2 separate regions of the Homo sapiens genome follow, and region 2 is linked to region 1. The links are contacts of gene promoters, found by promoter capture Hi-C in human tissues and cell types (Jung and others, 2019). All regions are on one chromosome and are shown on one strand. Each heading gives the region's core, a stretch centred on a gene start or on the middle of the fragment in contact. The rest is flanking DNA. Distances are from core to core; before and after follow the strand shown.

Region 1 (4,226 bases), core at 800-3,299:
ATAGCAAGGCACCACCTTGCGCAGGTTGTCTAGCGCCGCGTTCAGTCCGTGCATGCGGTTCCGCTCCCGGGCGTTAGCCTTCATGCGTCTCAATTTAAAACGCTCCAGGCGAGCCTTAGTCATCTTCTTCTTTTTGGGGCCGCGTCTCTTGGGCTTTTGATCGTCATCCTCCTCTTCCTCTTCTTCCTCCTCTTCCAGGTCCTCATCTTCGTCCTCCTCCTCTCCCCCGTTCCTCAGTGAGTCCTCCTCTGCGTTCATGGTTTCGAGGTCGTCCTCCTTCTTGTCTGCCTCGTGCTCCTCGTCCTGAGAACTGAGACACTCGTCTGTCCAGCTTGGAGGACCTTGGGGCTGAGGCTCGCCCATCAGCCCACTCTCGCTGTACGATTTGGTCATGTTTCGATTTCCTACATTCAACAAGGGAGAGGCAAACAGAAAGAAAAGCAGAAAAACGCTATATTCAAAAGCCAGATACGCCTTCAGCTTCCACTCCCTAAACCTGTACAAATGCTTGCGAAAAGTACCTGCCCATTACAAAATGAATGCCTCTGAGAAAAAGTTAAATGCAGTGTTTTATAATGGCGCGTGCGTGTGCCCCGCTAGTACGTAGGAGTGAGGACAGGACTGGGGGAGGGTAGTGAATATGTATATGTGTACACCACTCACGCATATGTGTTTGTATCCTAGTGATTAACTTAAATGTGTTTATGGTGGTTGCCCGACAGGATAATGTGTGTGGAAATGACTGTACATTTCAGCGACTTCATGTTTATCCAAATGTGTTCAAAGTTACTCACAACTCCATAAAAAAAAAAAAAAGCTGTAAAATCACACATTCTACTTCCATTTCTGTCCTGGCTTCCAGATACTTAGCGATTTAAGTTGAACAGCCATTGCGTAATTTACTAATACTGGCAGCGATTTTTAAGAAGATTACATCGACGGGATACTGAAAAGCAAATGCAGAAAGGAGGAAAAATAGTTTCCACCAAATTGTTTCACCATCAATGTAACATTTGGCAACAAAAGTGGACAGGGTCTTCCACCCCTCCCTCGCCTTTCTTTTCTTGCCTTCCATCTCTGGCCCACCGCTAAATTTCCACCTTGTACAAAAGCGCTAGCTGCAGGGCGAGGGCTGGGGGCGCGGCGCAGAGCGCTCTCCCACGCGCCGGGGATCAGGTGCGGAAGGCTCCTCTCTAATAAACAGCCCATTGAAAGGGCCGCCCGCTCTTTATTGGGGCTTTTCAAAGTTCGCCTCAAACCTCCCTTTAAAAGATTGAGTAATTATAATGGTCAGCGATTGGCAACCGCGAAGTTGCCGCTTCTAGTAAGGAAAATAAAAAGCCTTTAGTAAAACAACTGAATTTCTGGCTCCAGTAGTGGCTGCTGGGGACTTGGCCGCCTCTGGAGCGGTAACAGGTAGCAGGAGTGAGTCCCTCTCCCTTTCTCCACTTTCCCCCCTCTCAACTAAACTATCTCTGAACCTGATTTATTTTCCATGGTGTGAATACTCAAGGTATCCATGTCCCTTTCATTCACTGAAAACACAGCTTGACACTCCCAATGTGCGTAAAATACATGCACACAAAATATATATTGATAACATAGATTTTTTTTTCTTACTGTAAGAAGTGAGAAAGTGAAGTCATTATTGCTTTTGGGACTTTAAAATCAGCACTAGCAGATAATCATAGTTACCGTGCATTCTTTTAAAAAATCCAAGAAGCTCCTATGCTATCCACAAAAGAAACCCAAATTTTTAAAATTTAAATTAGAAAGCCTGCAGGGGGTACTTGAGTGACACGACTCATTATGTGTGAGTACTTATGGGCAATTATGGAGGGGGATGCTGGTCTCAATACACATACACACTCTCGCAAACGCACACATACAGAATATGTAGGTTCATCAGTCTTCAGTTATTGCTTCTATTCTGGGGCAAAAAAATGAAAGAACTGTAATTACCTTTGTTGTTAGTAGGTCCTGAGCAGTGATAGTCTCATAACCCTGGGGCCTCCGGACGCCGCGCCTCCTGCGTGGGCGAATTCCTCGTGTCGTGGCCGCGCGGGCGCTCAGGTTATATAGCCCAGTTAGTGATGCTAAGCGCGGGCGGGGCCGCTAGCTGAGGGGCTAGCAGGTCTATGCGCCTGACGCCTGCGCACGCGTCCAGGCTGTGCGCTCCCCGTTCTCCCCTCCTCCCCACTTCTCCCCACGCCTTGCTCGTCTCCCGCCCTCCTCCGACAACCGCTCCCCTCACCCTCCACCCCTACCCCCGCCCCTCCTCCTTCCTCCCCGGCATGCGCCATATGGTCTTCCCGGTCCAGCCAAGAGCCTGGAACCACGTGACCTGCCCATTTGTATGCCGCGGAGCGCTCCATTCCGGCCCCTTTGTGGCCAGAAGAAAGTGGCCCATCTGTCGCCAGTTAGAGACTCCGCGGACCTGTTTTTACCCGCAGGAGAGATTAACCCTTTCAGGCGGCAGAAGGGACGGGGATAGAGGGGGGAGGGGATTTGAGGGAAGGAAGGGAAAAGCTAATGTTAACTAGGTCTAGATCAGAGCGAGTGGCCTGCTTTCGCGCCGGAAGTAGGACAGAGGTGAAAGAGGCAGAAGCGGGGAGACTGAGGCACGCAGTGAAGAGTCCTCGCTCCTTTCGATTTCTTGTCCTGACACTGGCATCCAGAGCAGCATGACTCCTTGCCCTCTCTGAAAGGCCCATCCCTTGGCTTCTTCTCCTTGGCAGACGCTTTGATCATTGGCGCCAAAGGATGGCTTCTCCTAATCTCCGTCGGCCCCTCTAAGCAAACATATACGCCATATAAAAGCGGCTTCATCTGTAAACGCAGCGTTGAGATTAGTTCCCCAACCTCCCTAACCGGATCGTCCTCTCCCAGTTCCTTCAGTACAGAAAAGTTGTACCTGCCATTCTATCCCTACCATACGTGCAATTCTTCATGTCCTGACCTTCAGCTACGACTGTTCCTCCAGACCCTCTCACTACGTCAGTCCCCACCTCCATCCCCAGGATCTTGTCCTCAAAGCGAGCTAGTTCTCGCGAGGAGGCCTTGGTTCCATTGGCCTTTGCGCTCTCTTATGTGGGAGCTGGGGACTTCTTTGACGGTTGTATTCTGCCTTTTAACCATGGCCACTGGGTTGCTGGAAAGGGCACCCTCACTCAGCCAGTCCAGGGACGCTTCTGGTTCCCTGGCCAGCCCGCCCTGGACGGCCTCGGCTCTCTAGTCCAGGCATTGACCACAAGTACGGTGGTGGACACCTCGCCACAGCCGGACCTGCGCTCTTGCTCCCCTCAGTCTCGGGTCTGTATAAGATACTTGATTCAGACAAGCGTTTTCAAAGAGAAGATGCAATGGGCCTGTGCTGAACGGGTCTTTCCGATCTCTTTCTAGAAACGCCTTTAGCACAACCCCGGAAGGATTAATGGCTGCGAACTCCTCCAGACTTCAAAGCCTCTGATTTGAAACTCCCAACTTGAAGGTCAAGCAAAGACCACAGAAATTCTCGACCAGTTCTGAAGGAGCCATATTGTTGCCCAAATAGCAATTCTTTACTCTTTTCGAACAAGGGTTTTCCAGAATAATAGATTTTAAAAAGAAAGAAAGAAACTGGCCTGTCTACTCGTTCTTTCCCAGCTTTGCCTCTAATCCTTCATTAACTAACTCCTTACCCCCTCCCAGACCTGAAACCCTCTGCAATAAATACCTCTTACGTGAATTGCTTATTTAAAGGCAATTGCACTAAACATCCCTCGAGTTTGCAAACAGCGACAGGGTTGAGAGGCTGGATTGGGGTGCATCTGGGAGAGGGTGGGGACGGGAGGAGAGAGTAGGGGTAGAGGAAGAGGGTCCTAGCCAGATCCCCGGTGTCTGAAGGTAGCAGGTGCAGCCTTCCCTGCACAGTACTAATCTAAAAGGGGAAGAAAAGAGTTGTGCCACCGAAGCGTGGCGTGAATCGTTGTGGGGTTCTGGAGTTTTGCTTGCTTTTCTACATTCACTTGGCTGACAAAGCGCATAGGGGAGGATAAAATAATTCACCCAGGAGCCTGGGCCCAGGATTTACCCCTGTACTGTCTGTATCTTCAGTGTTGGGCTAAAACTCGAGGGCGTCGGAGTACTAGCCCTTAGAAGATAGTACACAGCCCGACGTTTGCGGCAGGGCCAGGTTAAGTACTGCCCCTCACCCGGCAGCTGCCCCGACTGGCAGCACACTATGC
Region 2 (3,867 bases), core at 479-2,978, 210 kb before region 1:
ATTCTCAATAGCAAAGACTTGGAACCAACCCAAATGTCCATCAATGTAGACTGGATTAAGAAAATGTGGCACATATACACCATGAAATACTATGCAGCCATAAAAAAGGATGAGTTCATGTCCTTTGTAGGGACATGGATGAAATTGGAAATCATCATTCTCAGTAAACTATCACAAGAACAAAAAACCAAACACCGCATGTTCTCACTCACAGGTAGGAATTGAACAATGAGAACACTTGGACACAGGAAGGGGAACATCACACACCGGGGCCTGTCGTGGGGTGGGGGGATGGGGGAGGGATAGCATTAGGAGATATACCTAATGTAAATGACGAGTTAATGGGTACAGGACACCAACATGGCACATGTATACATATGTAACAAACCTGCATGTTGTGCACATGTACCCTGGAACTTAAAGTATAATAATAAAAAAAAAAGATATAAATGTTGGCAAGAATGTGGAAAAATGGGGAACCCTTGCCCACTGTTGATGGGAAAGTAAGTATAACTATAATGGAAAATAGTATGGAGATTCCTCAAAAATTTAAAAATAGAACTATTACAAGACTCAGCAATCTCACTGAAGGTATATATCCAAAGAAAATAAAATCAATATGTCAAAGAGGAAAAAAAATATGAGATTTTCTTGCAATTTTTTTTTTAGCTGATCAGTTATCATTAGTGTCAGTGTACTTTACGTATGGCCCAAAACAATTCTTCCAGTATGGCCCAGGGAAACCAAATATTGGACACCCCTGAGCTACATTGTAGAGCTATTGTTCACAAGCCCAACCATATGCTACAACTACCTGGGGGGCTTCAAAAAAATTCTTATGTCTGGTTCTTAACCCAGACATGTCAAGTCTGAGCCTCTAAGAGTGGGGCCCAAGTGGAGGTACTGGTTTCAAACTCCCTTCAGTTGATTCTAACGTCCAGTCAAGGCTGAGTACTGAGTGGAAAAGGAGTGGACTCAGGATCACACAGGTTAAGGGAGAAAAGCTTTGGAGAAGGCCATGATCACAAGCTGATCATGTAGCAGTCTTACTTCTTCTACCAAGATTCCGCAGGCACAACAAAAGAAAAGAGAAGCTGGGCATGGTGGTGGGCACCTATATCCCCAGCTACATAGGAGGCTGAAGTGGGAGGATTACAAGAGCCCAGGAGTTTGAGGCTGCAGTGAGCTATGATCACGCCAATGCACTGCAGCCTAGATGACAGAGTGAGATCCTATCTCCCTAAAAAATAAAAAGAGAAAAAGTCCCAGAAATTAAGAAAAAACCCAGAACACTAGGGGAAATTACAGGATGTTCTCTGAACAGATTCTAACCTGTAACCAGTACTTGAAAGTTACCTCAATATTATTGCTGTTGGGGGCTGCCTCTATGGTAAAAACAGTGTTAAGAAGTGAAAAGGGGAAACATATCTAAATGTAGTATATGTATTTGCTCACTTATTAAGATTGGTTTTTCTTCTGTGGAAGAATGATTGTTTCATGACTATTTCCATGAACTTTCTTTCTGGCTATGCATTCATTCTTTTTACACACATTTTGAATTAAGATATATGAAATAAGCAGAAGATGTTTAGTCAAACCATAATAGAAGCTTTGAATTGTTTTTCGTTTACTGACCTTTCCATTTCAGCACCCATTTCTGGGCTGTTTGTCGGGGGTGGGATTATGACAAAGATACAGTCCTGGGCAAGATGAATGAGGTCACTATTTACTAAGCCTTGGAAATAGGCCAGAAACATTGTAAATAAATAAATGTAGTTAACCTTAACAAAAATGAAAATACTTATTCCTACAAGATATTAATCAATTTCACCACAATTTCCTCTGAGTGATCGCATCCTGTGTGTCTAAGAACCCTTGAGTGCTGATGTTGAGAGTCATCTTTCAGTATCTAAGAGTGGATTAACTAACAACTGTATAGGAGATATTTGAAAATTAATGAATCAGAAATTTTATCTATATATTAGAAGGCAACTATTGTTTGGAACCACATTGTAACAGATATGAGATTACATCTAGTGGCATTTTGACCCCCACCCCACCAATTTCCCACTTACACACCTGCCATATGTTTTTCTATTTGGAATCTCTTCTGCTCACGGGTGAATGAACCACATCACTGGCTTCCTGGGAAAGCTCTTCCTACATTTATTCTTAAGTAAACATCTCTTTCTTGTGGCTTCTGGAGGGCTAATTGTTCTCCTATTTCTAAGAATCATTATTTTTAGCCTAGAACAAGAAGAAGGGAAGGGCATGAGCCACACTGGAAATAAAGTCCCAGGACTTTGGTGAGACTACATGGGACACATCTTAAAATAGCCTAATGATTTAGTGGCCCTTTTCCCAGAGAGCTGAGAGGCACTCATGTGGAGAGAAAGAAGTTTCAGGGAAGTGATGTTAGTAAGTGAGAAAGTGAGTAGTTTGTGGTGTGTGTAAACCTCAGTGTGAGCCTGGGCAGTGATGACATTGTGATGTTACCTGATGGAGCTAAAACTAAAACAAGAAGGAGGCAATGCAGAATATTAAATAGATAAGAGTTCATAATGCAAGAGTTTGTCTAGTCTTCACTTAGAAATTTACAAAACAGTTCAGCTAAGAAACCGATAACAATACACTATTTTTGCACATAATTTTTTGGCCATTTTCATTAAGCTATTTACATGGTACATTGTGGTTCTAAACTATTGTCTTTTTAATCTTCTGGGTGGCTCTCTCTAGAATAATAGATTTGTTTCTAAATATTGGATGTAATCGTAATGAAAGTGTCTATTATACACGCCATATTATTTGTGACCCCCATCCTCTCCTGTCCTTAATTTTCTTCTTGCTCAATTGTCTTAACTGAGTGTTGACTATAAATTCATAAAAATTTTAGTATTTTCAGAGGGAACTTATTAACATGGCTATTGTAGTAAATAACAGGAACTTCATGTAGACTGAATCTACCATTTGTTATCTATTTTTGACAGTAAACAATTGATTTTAGTGAAAACTGAAAATTGTATTATAATGAAAATTAAAATGCCTTGTTTGTCATTCTCTTTTAATTTAAATTTTGTTGGTTTGGCATTAGGTAGCCACAATAACAACTCCCTATTTTAGACCTTACCTATCTCCCACACACAATTTTTTTTCTCCTACCATCTTCCCTCTGTTTTCCCCTTCTCTTTTCGTGTCATTTCTCTCTTCATCCCTTCCTTTCTCAAGTTAACACGGAGACCTTATGTGTCCACCTGGACTGTTCTTTACCAAGGTTTGGGCCACAGCAAGACTCCTTTCCAATTCTAATAGCAACCATTGCCAATCAACCCCAGCATTCTTTGTCCAGACCTAGTCTTAGTCCTCCTCCCTTCAGTCTAGTTCTCCAGGAAGCCATTACCAGTTAGTGGGGGTTGCCATTTATTCTATGTGTATGCTGTCGAGAAAAACATTCTCTGCATTTCACAGTAACAGTGTTCCTGACCATGAGAACCACTTAGGGCAGGGGTCCCCAATCCCTGGGCTGTGGATGGGTACTGGCCCGTGGCCTGGTAGGAACTGGGCTGCACAGCAGGAGGTGAGCAGTGGACCAGTGAGCATTCCCGCCTGAGCTTTGCCTCTGTCAGATCAGTGGTGGCATTAGATTCTCGTAGGAGTGCAAACCCTATTACGAACTGCACAGCCGTGGGATCTAGGTTGTGCTTTCCTTAGCAGAATCTAATGCCAGATGATCTGAGGTGGAACAGTTTCATTCCAAACCTTACTACTGCCCATGGAAAAAATTGTCTTCACGAAACCAGTCCTTGGTGCCAAAAAGATTGGGAACCACTGACCTAGGGTAATCAGGGCCTCACCTGGATCTGCTGGAGC

What was found. Contacts are between HindIII fragments. The study calls those that stand out against the background at their distance.
Region 2: a contact is called between a fragment that was not itself captured here and the fragment with the promoter of NEUROD1 in region 1, in 1 of the 25 tissues and cell types used here (lymphoblastoid cells).

The regions. Positions count from the first base shown.
Region 1 is chr2:181,678,468-181,682,693 of GRCh38, forward strand. NEUROD1 (neuronal differentiation 1) reads right to left here and starts at 2,050. Exons shown (of 2, transcript NM_002500.5): 1 at 1,963-2,050; 2 at 1-404. The coding sequence starts at 393. RefSeq lists an enhancer at 2,700-3,276. The HindIII fragment of the contact is 10,799 bases long and covers 1-4,226 here.
Region 2 is chr2:181,469,636-181,473,502 of GRCh38, forward strand. All of the region lies in intron 2 of ITGA4 (integrin subunit alpha 4), which reads left to right. Among named protein-coding and RNA genes, the nearest start is that of ITGA4, 14 kb to the left of the region's middle. The HindIII fragment of the contact is 5,063 bases long and covers 1-3,867 here.